5 separate regions of the Homo sapiens genome follow, and regions 1, 2, 3 and 5 are each linked to region 4. The links are contacts of gene promoters, found by promoter capture Hi-C in human tissues and cell types (Jung and others, 2019). All regions are on one chromosome and are shown on one strand. Each heading gives the region's core, a stretch centred on a gene start or on the middle of the fragment in contact. The rest is flanking DNA. Distances are from core to core; before and after follow the strand shown.

Region 1 (2,700 bases), core at 113-2,612, 480 kb after region 4:
ATACTGTTCAGTATTTAGAGGAATGCAGTTCTGACTACATAAGCAAACATGCTGTTAGAGAATAATCAAGGAACAAATACATTTTAGAGTGAGTAGGTGAGAGCATTAGTGACACTGACGGAGAAACATGTATCTAAAGACATTTTGAAACTCAGCAGTTTATACAGTCTAGATTGACCATGGACATTGAGATTAAGGAGCAGATATTAACAAATGTGAAAAATTATCAAATCCTTTTGACCACACTGTAATGAGTTACTTTGCTCAAACTCAAAGTTTATCATCTCTTTCTTTGTGATTTTTGGATTATAATAAGAAATTGTAGTTTTGATATGAATTCAAAAAAACACAGGCTAACTATGTTGTGATCAATAAATTATCAGTAAATTATTACTGTAAATAAACTTTGAGCACAGAAACAAAGAATCATTCGTTAAAAAAATACTTTGGCAGATGTGAGAACTAGTTGAAGTTTCCCGTAATACATGACTAATTAGCAACATTTTTAACAGTTTTATAGATATAATTAATGACATATAAAAACTAAACATACTTGTAGTGTATAATTTGTAGTCTTGACATGTGTAAACACCCATAAAATCATCATTGTAATAAAGATAATGAATGTATCTATCACCCCCTGTATTAGGCCGTTCTTGCATTGCTATAAAGGAATACACGAGACTGAGTAATTTATAAGAAAAGATGTTTAATTGGCTCATGGTTCTGCAGGCTGTACCAGAAGCATAGTGCCAGCATCTACTTCAGGGGAGGTTTCAGAGAGATTTACTTATGGCAAAATGTGAAGTGGGAGAGTAGGTGTTTCACATAGCAAGAACGGGAGCAAGAGAGACACAGAGTGTGTGTGTGTCGGGGGGAGGTGCCACAAACTTTTAAAAAACCAGGAGCTTAGAAGGAGAGCTTACCTATCACCAAGGGGATGGCCCAAGCCATTCTTGAGGGATCTTCCCCCCATGATTCAAACACCTCCCACTAGGCCCCACCTCCAACACTGGAGATGGCATTTCAACATGAGATTTGGGCAGGGAGAAATATCCAAACTATATCATTCTGCCTCTGCCCACCCACTGAATCTCCTGTTCTTCTCACATTGCAAAATATAATCATGCGTTCCTAATAGTCCCCCAAAGTCTTAACTCATTCCAGGATTAACTCAGAAGTCCAACGCCCAAAGGCTCATCTGAGAGAAGGCAAGTCTCTTCCATCTATTAGCCTGTAAAATAAAAAATAAGTTATTTACTTCCAAGATACAATGGGGGTATAGGCATTGGGTAAACCTTGCCATTTCAAAAGGGAGAAATCAGCCAAAAGAAAGGGGTTACAGGTCTCACATAAGTTCAAAACACAGCAGGACAATTATTAAATCTTTTTTTATTTTTTATTTATTTATTTTTATTATACTTTAAGTTTTAGGGTACATGTGCACAACGTGCAGGTTTGCTACATATATATACATGTGCCACGTTGGTTTGCTGCACCCATTAACTCATCATTTAACATTAGGTATATCTCTAAGGCTATCCCTCCCCCCTCCCCGTACCCCACAACAGGCCCCGGTGTGTGATGTTCCCCTTCCTGTGTCCATGTGTTCTCATTGTTCAATTCCCACCTATGAGTGAGAACATGCGGTGTTTGGTTTTTTGTCCTTGCGATAGTTTGCTGAGAATGATGGTTTCCAGCTTCATCCATGTCCCTACAAAGGACATGAACTCATCGTTTTTTATGGCTGCATGGTATTCCATGGTTTATATGTGCCACATTTTCTTTACCAAGTCTATCATTGATGGGCATTTGGGTTGGTTCCAAATCTTTGCTATTGTGAACAGTGCTGCAATAAACATATGTGTGCATGTGTCTTTATAGCAGCATGATTTATAAACCTTTGGGTGTATACCCAGCAATGGGATGGCTGGGTCAAATGGTATTTCTAGTTCTAGATCCCTGAGGAATTGCCACACTGACTTCCACAATGGTTGAACTAGTTTACAGTCCCACCAACAGTGTAAAAGTGTTCCTATTTCTCCACATCCTCTCCAGCACCTGTTGTTTCCTGACTTTTTAATGATCACCATTCTAACTGGTGTGAGATGGTATCTCATTGTGGTTTTGATTTGCATTTCTCTGATAGCCAGTGATGATGAGCATTTTTTCATGTGTCTTTTGGCTGCATAAATGTCTTCTTTTGAGAAGTGTCTGTTCATATCCTTTGCCCACTTGTTGATGGGGTTGTTTGTTTTTTCTTGTAAATTTGTTTGAGTTCATTGTAGATTCTGGATATTAGCCCTTTGTCAGATGGGTAGATTGCAAAAATGTTCTCCCATTCTGTAGGTTGCCTGTTCACTCTGATGGTAGTTTCTTTTGCTGTGCAGAAGCTCTCTAGTTTAATGAGATCTCATTTGTCAATTTTGGCTTTTGTTGCCATTGCTTTTGGTGTTTTAGACATGAAGTCCTTGCTCATGCCTGTGTCCTGAATGGTATTGCCCAGGTTTTCTTCTAGGGTTTTTATGGTTTTAGGTCTAACATTTAAGTCTTTAATCCATCTCGAATTAATTTTTGTATAAGGTGTAAGGAAGGGATCCAGTTTCAGCTTTCTACATATGGCTAGCCAGTTTTCCCAGCACCATTTATTAAATAGGGAATCCTTTCCCCATTTCTTGTTTTTGTCAGGTTTGTCAAAGA
Region 2 (2,840 bases), core at 52-2,551, 320 kb after region 4:
CCCTGGAAGGGTGTTGCATGCTCCTGCATCCCAATCTCCCTTCAATATGACGGTTTCAAAGGTGTCCTCATCTGCACAATTTTGCAAATTGTGAGAAGTGTGGCTGAGTGGCTTTCATATGGCAGCTGAAGAGGAGGAGACAATGTTGAAACTGTCACCAATTTAAGCTTGCTTTTGCTTTAGGGTGTCTTACACAGTGCTGGAGAAGCGGGGGAGGGTTTTCAGCACGCCCACTTCAGTGGGTATTGAATTGCCTGCATAATTACCTTTCTCCAAATTTGTCTCAAATTTGCTGAGAGAAACCTTACTTGCCAGCTTTTCAGAATACACTGTGAGTGTGTTTTATGATTTTTTTTCAACCTCTTTCAGGTACTATGGTTAGTTATTTGCTCTACCTCACAAGCATTTGATTAGCCTGTATAAATGTCAGCCTGAGTGAATGGTTTCACTTTATGTAGTATCTGGAAGTCTAACTAATGATACCATTATAAAGTGAGGAAAGGAAACAACTATAAGAATCACAGTCCTTCCTGGAAATTGTCTTGTTCCTTCTGATTTGTGAAGTCTACCAACTGTTAAGAGTTCCTTGATTGAGCCTGATAGTCCTTGAACACAGGGATGGAGTTGAGTTTCAATGCGATTGAGTCACAAACTATTCAGTATTTTGTAGACTCACATCGATTGACAGGCCAGCAAATGAGGAGAAGCAAAAAAAAATCTCACATCCATAAGGTATCTCTTAGGCTCATCTACCTCAAGTGTTTTCGTCAGTGTTAGAACATTTGTCCCAGTTCCCTGGAGTAAGTCCTTGTGAGGAATTATAACTCAATTTTTTAGTACCATCTCTGAATCACATCAGTCTCTGTTTTCTGTCAATTATGTGCAGCACAGGCTTCTCTTTGCTAGTCTCCTACTTCTTCGGCTTTTATCTTTTCGATTGCTACCAGTTTTCTTCCTACAACTTTGCCAGTTTTTTCTCAGCCTCCTTCCTCACCTCCCTTTCTTCCTCTAATCCCTTAGCTGCTGTTATTCCCAGAAATTTACCTTCTGCCCACTGCCCTCCTCAGGCTACATTCTTTCCCTTAGAAATCTCATCTTACCTTCATTTTATAATTACCTAAATGCTAATGATTGCCAAATGTATACATTTTACCTGGACTGCCCCAAGGATGTTTGGATTTATGCAATCTGCTCCACCTACCCATTTGATTTTCACAGGCACCTCAGATTAACCATGTTCATAACTGAATCCATTGTCCTGCCCTCCTTTGAATCATCCTCTCCAATTCCAAATGACCATTACTGACACACCACCCATTGAGCTGGGTGACAGACAGAATGTCAGCAATCATCTGAGATGTTTTGTTTCTTACTTTTTCTATCCAATCAGCCCTACAACGCAATCAGTCTCTTCTATTTTCACTCTCAAATATTTCTAGAGTCTCTTCTTATTTTTCCATCACTTCCACTGCTGCACAGCTCTAATGCTCCTTTCTCATTGGAATTCTTCTAACACTATCCTAACTAGGTTCCTTTTTTCCAGTTTAATCTTGTCCTAATTTATGCCTGACTGATACTTCTAAAACACAAATCTGACAATACTGCTCTTATAATTAGAATGGTATTCTTTTTCTGAAAAATCAATATCAAGCCCTGTCTTATGACCCAGGAGACTGCCCTTGTCCTCTGTTTTGTATCACAAAGGCCTCCTGCTTCAGATTGACCCCTCTTTCCTGACATTAGTAATTTTTACTCAACCTTCAAGACTCAGTTCAAAGCATAACTGACTCAAGTGACCTTCCTTTTCCCACTTAAGCTTGGCTAAGTGTCTCTTCTCCTACCTCCAAAGCTGCTTATAGACAACATTGTCACTGCCAGCTTGCAGAAGAATGAGGTTCAACATTCTGCAAGATCCTAAGCAGCAGAGTCCTTGCATCCTTCTACCCCTAAAGCCCCGTGCAGTGCCTAGACCACACTTGGTGCTCAATAAATGTTAATCTGACCTAGAACATTCCAAATTCTTATGATTTCAAAGATTACCTCAATAGCTTCATAATTCATTTCCTTGTCTCCAAGGCATTCTTGCCGCAAGCCATCTTGCACACAGCTGATAGATGAATAAAGCACTGCTCTTACGGTTTTCCTTCCTAGTTAAAAATCTACAAAAGTTTCACAATGCTTTATGAAGATTTCGGATTGAATTTATCTGTCTTTCCTCACGTGAGTGGTTCTGCCTTACCTATTCAAATCCATCTGCTGCTGTTCAATTCAGATGCTCTTCTCAGCATCTCAGTTCTTCTCCTTTGTCACCATCCAGCATAGTTCAGTAATTATCAACCTTCACCTTTACATACGTTTTTAGGATTTACAAAGGACTTTCACAATCCATGCTCATTCCTTCCTCCAGTAATTTTTGCTCTTCTTCCTGTGGGAGTATTTCTTTTGGGTGTCCTAATTGAAATTCTATTTTCTTGAAGGTCCAAATCATAATGATGACTTCTGTGAAAACTTCAACAAGAAAATAAGTTCATAGCAGTCTTTTCCATAATTTATATGTTTCTAATAAAAAGATAATGTTTTGTTTTTTAACCATACTATTTCTCTTACTCTAGATATCTTCCCCCTTCCAAGCTTTTTATTTTTATTTTCAAAGCTGCACATTTTATCTTTCCAACTAGCATCAAAGTTTCCCAAAGGTAGTGGCTAAAAAGTCTTTCTGTATTTTCATACATCATGTTTGGAATAGAATAGATTCTCCTCGTGGGTGGCATGTACTAAGATTTTTCTTCCCCTTCTGTGAAGTAAATTTATTTTCTCGTCACACTTAAATTCATTCTTGA
Region 3 (2,700 bases), core at 117-2,616, 400 kb after region 4:
CCATTAATTATATTGGGATCCCACTATTATGGAGTGAAAATAAGGTAAAAGTTATGTGGCAGGCTATTTTCCCAATAAAGCCTTGCACAACAGGTTTAAAAAATTAGTAAATTGGGTTTTATCAGTACATGTAATAATTCAAGTTTTCCTTGATTTGAAACTACCAATATGAGTGAACAGAGAAGTAAGTTTATATTACACAGTATTAAAGACAATTTATAGTTACTTTTTCAGAGGTATATTTTATTAGTGAAATTTCACAACAGACAAGAACATGAAATAGGATACTGACATTTTGTAAACTCATTGTACTAGGCTAAAAAAGGAAATTCTGTTATAGAGACATCTTTCTTTCCAACTTTAAATTGTTCAGGAAGATGTATTTGAATTCACTGACCTTGTATTTACTTACCAATAGCAAGTAACAGATGAATGAAAGAATATAAAGACATTGAGTTTAAATATCTAACCAGGAAGTGGTTTCTTAGGATAGTTATGCAGGCAATACATTCACTTGTCTTTTCAAATTATTTTCCTTTGTCCAGCGAACTAACCATAGCTAACTACCAGGTACAGTCTTTTAGTAAAGACTATTTGGTTATCAGCAGTGCCTCTTATTTCTGCTCTCCAATCAGCAGATCCTCTCTTTTCTGCTCCCCAAGTATAGGCTCTAGACAACCATGTTTCTGCTGTGCAGTTCTGCTTACCCACGTTCATAGTCATGACGTGTCTGCTGTGTTGAACCTCAGTATATCGAAAACTTAATCTGCAGGACAGATCTCTGGATGGCTTTGGACTGACCCAATTCGCTCCCACTTTCCTGCATGTAGTTCTTGGAAAAACTGTAGAATGTGCTGGGACTACATTCATCCTGAGATCTAGGCAAAAACTGCCTGAAACTGTCTGGGTCTTGTTCTTGTCCCAACCAGAAAATGTAACATCTTGAGCTAGGGAGGAACTGTCTGAGACAAATTGGGCTTTGTTCCTCCTTCTCCTGGAAGCAGGATGTCCTTCAAATCTTTGCCCAGTGAGCCATATTGCCCTGAGGTATATAACTTGGGTTGGAACAACTTTTGAGGTCCCTCAGCCACAATACAAGTGGAACACCCAAAGTTCAGCCTTCCTCCATCTGCCCCAGGCAGCTTTCTTGAGCCTTGAGGGACTGGATCACAATGGATCCTAGACTTCTTTTGCTGCTTGCTGCCTATCTGTAAGTAATAAATCTATTTTATGTAACTTGTTGTGTGTGAGTGTTCTGTCTCATCGGACTCAGGCAATTGATAAAACTATAGCCCAAGGTGCAGTGGGCAAAAGTGTTTGGAGTCCTATTTCTGGTGGTTGGTATAGTGATAATCTTTGCTATTCTCCATGCAGTGGGAATTCTCTCTTGGGGTTGGTAATTGGAGAACCTGGTCCACACTACATTGTGTATAGTAGAGGCTCAACAACTTTTGAATGAACGTGTACATGAAAATAGGCACCTGACTTAAGCTGAGCTATTCAAATCTTGTCACTTGAAAATTGCAACTGAGAAATATGGTTTTGGTGGTTACGTCACATCAATAGTAGAGTTCAACAGGAAAAAATCTACAAGTTGCAATGCCAACTTACCCATGCCTGGTCAGGTTCGTATTTCACTGAAGTGTGGTTGCCTAGCCTTACTTTAATTATAAGAGATACTCCAGTGTATGTATTAAACAAGTTACTCTTTCTTACAGCCGCGAACTCATGCACTGTGCAACTAAACCATCACTTTGATCTTCTGCAAGTGTTTATGCATGTGGGGGTAGAAATAGATGGCACATATGCACATAAATATGAGCACGTATTGTGTTTCTCTAATTATAACTGACACAAATGACAAACTAACTGTAATATGTATGTGTGAATGGGTGTTATTGATTAACCTAGAATTACACATATATTTGTCACTTTTTGTATGTGTGTCTCAGCATAGAATATATATGTATCTGGATATAAAAATTTGGGAGGGCATGTTTTAAAAATTAGCATGGGCTATGTGTATGCACATAGATGTATTTAAGAAAATGTATGATTATAATGTATGTTCTCATTTATTATGGGTTCTCATTATGGATTGAAGGCTATTGTGCCCCCTTTCATCATGTCAGTATTATAGAGGAAGCTTAGTTTTCTGTTTATGTGAATATGTGTGTTGTATTTGTTAATTTAAAAATCATTCTGAGTAAAGAACAACAAAAATAACATGAAAAAACCAAGGTATTTATCACTTGTTTATTCGTTACTTCTTCCTCTTTCTCCTCCTCCATTAGCCTCATCTGTTCTGATTCATTAAACTAAGCATCTTATGTGCAACATCTTTCCATTTACAATTTCTTCCACTTAAAAGAAAGAAATATTAATCTCTAATTTGGATGTTTTCATTTCCTTTCTATTATATTCTTTTATATGAAAACATTGTAGTTACTTTGACTAATGCCATTTTGATTAATCTTTTAAAAATATTATAGAACCTTTTAAGAACAGAATATTCCCAGTTTGCTGATTATTAGATCTCTAATTTCTGTTTAATTTTTATTAATTTCTGTTTAATTTTTATATATTGGGAATGATGAATAGATGATAGATTACTGTAAATCTGTTCTTCTAAAATGGAAACATCTTAAAACATTTCTAAATAATTATAAATATGTAACTCTGAATTATAATTGATACATT
Region 4 (2,700 bases), core at 106-2,605:
AACTTCTTGGTTCTTGAATGTTCTGAGTCATAGTTAACTCAGGTGGCCAGCCCTTTGCACTGACAGAGACCTGCATTTAACTCCCCATAAAATATGGATTTTATTGCAGCAGTGACACTTCTTAGCACCACGCTGACCTCTCCAGCATCTCCCATCTCGAGATCTACGGTAACTCATGACAGAATATCTAACTACGGAAGAAGTAATCTCAGCTCTGCAACTGCTGCAGTCCACAACATTGCAGCGTCCCTTTTTATTAAATTCTGGGATTAACGCATTGGGGGCTCCAATTTTCCAGCATCTGGCACCGAAAACCAAGCGCACTCCAACCACTCTCCAATCAGTCCGGGGAAGGCTTTATCCCCCAGATTTGAGCCTGGCCAGCCGTGGAGGAGCACGAGCGAACTGCGCCTTCCATATGACTTTTCCCTGGACAGTGTGCTCCATTTTCGGAGTCCAGTGTTGGACTTTCCTTGCAACCTAAGCATTTCTGTCCTAGATGAGCCGGCAGGCGTTGCCCGGAACGTGCAAGCTAACAGTTTTCTTTAGCTCCTTCTACCAGCCAAATCGTCTCTTTAGTTTAAGTTTTCCTTACTGGGAGCATTCCAGAGTTTTCAGACTACCTGATTTTCTGCTTTACCCCAAAAGCTAAGAAATGTAACTCAGCCCAAGCAGTCACCACGCAGACCCTTATGATGCGGGCAGGTGGAGATAAATCAAGCCCCAAACGGCTCGGCGGGACCTGCACGCACCAGCGCCCTTTGGTAATTGACCAGCCAACTTTGCAAATGCCAGAGCTCCCCTGGCAGCCTCTGCCGGCGTAGAGAAAGGCAGCGGGTTCTTCTGCGGCGGCCCGCTTCCCGGTGCCCCCACCCAGCCCCACGGCGGATCGGTCTTACCAGGAGGCGGAGGAGCGGTGCCCAGGCTCCCCGGGAAGCGGCGTCGGTCCTGAGCAGCGGCAGCAGCGCCGCCCGCGCAGCCGGACCCGCGCGCCCGCCCCGACCCGGGCTCGCAGGCTGAGAGCATCCCTCCCAACTCCGGCGCGGCACCCACCGGGCGGAGAGGGCTCTCTCTCTGATTGGCTTCTATCAACGCTACAGAATTAAAAAAAAAAAAAGGGAGATGTATGCATAGCCAACGGAGCCCGAACCCACCTCTGCTCGCCTTCCTGCGCCCGCGGAGACCCTGCGACCCGCCCAGGCTGCTCCTGCCTCCGCCGCCGCCGCCGCCGCGGTCGCCGGCTCTGCCGTTCTTGCTGTCGCGGCTGAAACTGCAGCTCTTGGGATGCGAAGGTTACGGGCTCGGGAGAGCTGGCTCTTGTGGGCACACACTGATTTGCAAGTGAATGAAGTGGGAGGGAGCAAAGAGAGGAGGACTTTGTTAAAGAGGCCCAGTGCCTGCCCCCGCCCGCCCCCTCCCCTTGACAGAATGACTCCCAGTGTTTGAAGTCCTGAGCAATTCGCTCCCTGGAACACTCCTTCAGCCCCAGGCTTTCCCTTGCTTTCTTTCTTTCTTTCTTTCTTTCTTTTTTTTGTTGGAGGGGGTTTAAGATATACTCAGAACTTGTATGACTCCGTCTGTTTCCTCTTTTGTACTATCAAAATGCACCTTGTGCTATTATCAGCAATGGTCTGATGTTCTTTTTTTTTCACCGACCAAGCAATTACAATTCCCAGGGACACAGTACCTCGTCACTCTATCAGTTGGCCAGCTTCGTGTGATAGCACGTATAACATGCACACACATAAAACAAGCCGGTCTCCTGAGATGACAATACCGATGGCTTTTCTTTACAACATAAACAGGCGTTCTCCAGATGCAAGCAGACATGGATAGATTCATACATGTCTTTCCTTCTCTCCTCCCAGGAAGACACGCTTTCACGTAGCCCCATGATCTCTGTTACTCTTTTGGAGTGACCCCAGGATGTCGTAGCATGAAGCCATGCTTCCCTGGGCTTGCAGAAACACTGAAAACCCAAACCCTTCAGGCTTGCCAATGACTTATGACTGATGCCATCGTTCTAAATGAATTGATACAAGCATACAAAAGACTTGCAGAAGAGGGGTGTACAATGATATTCAAGGTCTGCTTAACGTTCGAAGATCCTTCTGGAAAGTTGCCGAAGTTGGATAACCTTCAAATTAAACTCTTTAGTACACATAGCTGTTTGAATGGCTAGATTGATAGTTACAAAGAGGTAATATCTAATGTTAAGGTACTAAGCCACAAAAATGTGAAACATGTCAAAGTACCATTAAATGAGAGTAATGATTTTCTACATAGGAGACATAGGCATGATGGAGTCAGCCACTGTTGGATTAGGAAAATTAAATCTAATTACCACAGTGATTGCACCCAGGGTCACTAGCCTCCCAAACCAGCTGTTCGCCTGTGCTGCAAGTTCTCAGGGAGATTTCCATTGCACAGAGCTCTAAGAAATGCCAGGCTGCTTGGCCTCTGAGTAGTTAAACTGGCTGGAGGTTGGTCCTGTTCCCAACTGAGCTCTTACTAGAAAACCTTTTGTTTCTCCAATAGAAGTTCAGGCATTTAAATAAAGCCCAAATCAAAAGTATTCCTTTAGGCAGCCAGTGCTTCAAAGAAGTGTGCATGGAATGGTTTTAGCACAGATGTTCTGCACATGGAAGATGGAAAGATTTGAGTTTCTTTCTGGAAAAGACCTTCCCCAAATGAAGAATT
Region 5 (2,700 bases), core at 183-2,682, 280 kb after region 4:
CTCACACAGAATCTGTCACATCATCAGTGCTCCAGAAATATATAATAAATGAATCATAAAATGAATGTACCTGGTTTACTTAGAGAAGTTCCAGGAAAGGAGTTTAAAGCTGCAGGTGCATCTGTGTTAGGGAAAATAGGTGATGTTCCCGAATAGTCTAAAGCTAGATTTTTTAAAAATTAAATATTTACTTATTTATGTTTCCTTCTTCCTCTGTGATGACTAAAGCTAGATTTTAAAGAAACTTAATGCCAGGTTCAAGAGTAGAGTTTCAATAAATGAAAGCATTTACTTGTCATGCAATTACCACTCACATGAACTTGTTTATGTATAAGTACTGGGTAATGACTATTGATTTCATTTTTATTTTTCCCAATTAAAAATAATCTCTATCCATATTTATCAGAAGATACTGTGCTAAGTTTCTAAAGGTGCTTGCATGACATTTTTCTCTGAACTGGATAGATAAGGTTATGCATTTTTTTCCCCACTAGACTATGAGCTTCTTGAAAGTGTAGAACATTAATATTTATTTTTCAAGAATATAAGCATATATGTGACACATCATTGGTGCTTTATATAGTTTTGCTCAATGTGTGATTCAGAGAAGAAAAGAATGGAAAATAAATAGTATAGTAAAAACATGAGTCTTCTTATTTTAATTGACAGTGCAGGTGGTGGTCAGGACATTACCAGCTTACAGAAGTCTAATACATCACACAGGTAAATGGCAGTTGGTAAATGTGATGGTTAATATTGAGTGTCAACTTGATTGGATTGAAAGATGCAAAGTATTGTTCCTGGGTGTGTCTGTGAAGGTGTTGCCAAAGGAGATTAACATTTGAGTCAGTGGACTGGGAGAGGCAGACTCACCCTTAATCTCGGTAGGCACCATCTAGTCAGCTGCCAAAGTGGCTAGAATAAAGCAGCAAGAGAAGATGGAAGAGCAGATTTGCCGAGTCTTCCAGCCTTCATCTTTGTCTCATGCTGGATGCCTCCTGCCCTCAAACATCAGACTCCAAGTTCTTCAGCTTTTGGACTCTTGGATTGACACCAGCGGTTTGACAGGGGCTCTCGGGCCCTTGGAAACAGACTGTAAGTGCACAGTTGGCTTCCCGACTTTTGAGGTTTTGGGACTCTGACTGATCCACCACCGGCTTCCTTGCTCCTCAACTTGCAGACGGCCTATCATGGGACTTAAACTTGTGAACATGTGAGTCAATTCTCCTTTAATAAACTCGCTTTCATATACACATCTATCCTGTTAGCTCTGTCCCTCTAGTGAACCCTGGCTAATACAGTAAGCAAAGCCTCATGGAGACTCTTCAGGGTGCTTCTAATGCCACTGTCATGAGTCAGCTTGATGCAACCTGGAGATGTGAGAAACCCCTTACTAGTCAAAGATTTGTATGGAAATTGAAACTATACCTGTTTTTGCATCTCGGCCTGCATGTTTACTAAGTACACGCTCCAAACTCTGGAAGCCTAGGGTACACAGTTTTCTCTATCTCAGTATTACAAAGACTACAGCACTCAACAGGATATCAACCAAAGAGAAGTATTTGTTTCTAAGATCAGGGCTTTAGAGACAAGAAGGATAAGTCAAGATGAGGACGAGGACAAATGACTCAAAAAGGGAATTTTGGTATATTCCAGTGATTATCTGTTGTTCACAGTCATTCTGGACCACAAAATATGCAGACAAGAAAATTCATTCTAAAGAAAGAAGAACAGAAAGGAGACAGGCTTGGACATAATCTCACAACCTGAAGTTATTTTTAAAAAGCAGTGGCTCTAATGATGATAATAATGTTGTCTGCTTTCAGGTTTTTAAATTATTCTTTAAAAAATCAGATGCAAAATAATAAGCGAGGCCAGGCTAAAGTTGAAATTGATTTTCCCAAAATAAGACACCTTGCTTTTCCAGCACTTCATGTAAATGCAAAAGTTATGGAAGTAGTGAAAAGTGTTGAACCTACAATTATGCCTTTTGCCTTAAAATTTTAGCTGTGATTTTGCTTTGAAAAAGCTTTTGTTCCATTTCTTCCCCATTCCTAACACTGCCATTTTGTTTGTGTGTGATCAGACAAAAATGTAGAACATGGAATGACTTTGGATAAAATTAAAATTTAAATGGCCAGCAAGAAGTCTTTAGAGAACATTTATTTCTGTCTGTATGTGGCACTTTCAGGTGGCTAGGCCTGTGGGTCAGAGTCATTCAGATTTATCTTTATTCTGTAGATGTAGGAGTGCTCCTTCTATTGGCTTTCTGTGTCTCACTCTGAGATCAAAAGGTTGTATCATAAATGAACAATCTCAGAGCTAGAGAGACTGGATGTACTGTGTGCTGATATGATAAAAGTAAAGATACTTTGCTAGAAATTCTCCCAAAGCATCATTTCCCTTTCTTTATGCACAATGTACAACAGAGAATAGTCAAGGGAAGAAAAGATCAGCCTGCAAGAAGGCAAGGAATATGTGAGAAAAAGCATGAGAAAGCAAGAGAAAAAGTCCTGGGCATTGCAAAGAAGAGGCTAGCCACACCTTATTAGTTTATACAGAGCTGCATTTTTTTTTTTTTGGCAGTACCCACTCTTGTCAGTACTTCAAGTTTATCTCATTTTTTTTTCTTTGCCCCTTTCACTCCACTGAGGCATCCAAAGATGATCACTGCCATAGTTTGCCTCATTGCAGTTTTTA

What was found. The method cuts DNA at HindIII sites, captures the fragments that hold promoters and counts their contacts. A contact is called where the count stands out against the background at its distance.
Region 1: a fragment that was not itself captured here is called in contact with the fragment with the promoter of CDH6 in region 4 in 1 of the 25 tissues and cell types used here (dorsolateral prefrontal cortex).
Region 2: a fragment that was not itself captured here is called in contact with the fragment with the promoter of CDH6 in region 4 in 1 of the 25 tissues and cell types used here (H1 embryonic stem cells).
Region 3: a contact is called between a fragment that was not itself captured here and the fragment with the promoter of CDH6 in region 4, in 2 of the 25 tissues and cell types used here (hippocampus and pancreas).
Region 5: a fragment that was not itself captured here is called in contact with the fragment with the promoter of CDH6 in region 4 in 1 of the 25 tissues and cell types used here (aorta).

The regions. Positions count from the first base shown.
Region 1 is chr5:30,709,772-30,712,471 of GRCh38, reverse strand. No RefSeq gene overlaps it. Among named protein-coding and RNA genes, the nearest start is that of CDH6, 480 kb to the left of the region's middle. The HindIII fragment of the contact is 6,839 bases long and covers 1-2,700 here.
Region 2 is chr5:30,868,757-30,871,596 of GRCh38, reverse strand. No RefSeq gene overlaps it. Among named protein-coding and RNA genes, the nearest start is that of CDH6, 320 kb to the left of the region's middle. The HindIII fragment of the contact is 3,693 bases long and covers 1-2,840 here.
Region 3 is chr5:30,791,556-30,794,255 of GRCh38, reverse strand. No RefSeq gene overlaps it. Among named protein-coding and RNA genes, the nearest start is that of CDH6, 400 kb to the left of the region's middle. The HindIII fragment of the contact is 8,207 bases long and covers 1-2,700 here.
Region 4 is chr5:31,192,341-31,195,040 of GRCh38, reverse strand. CDH6 (cadherin 6) reads right to left here and starts at 1,355. Exons shown (of 12, transcript NM_004932.4): 1 at 1,155-1,355. The HindIII fragment of the contact is 7,217 bases long and covers 1-2,700 here.
Region 5 is chr5:30,916,992-30,919,691 of GRCh38, reverse strand. No RefSeq gene overlaps it. Among named protein-coding and RNA genes, the nearest start is that of CDH6, 280 kb to the left of the region's middle. The HindIII fragment of the contact is 3,846 bases long and covers 1-2,700 here.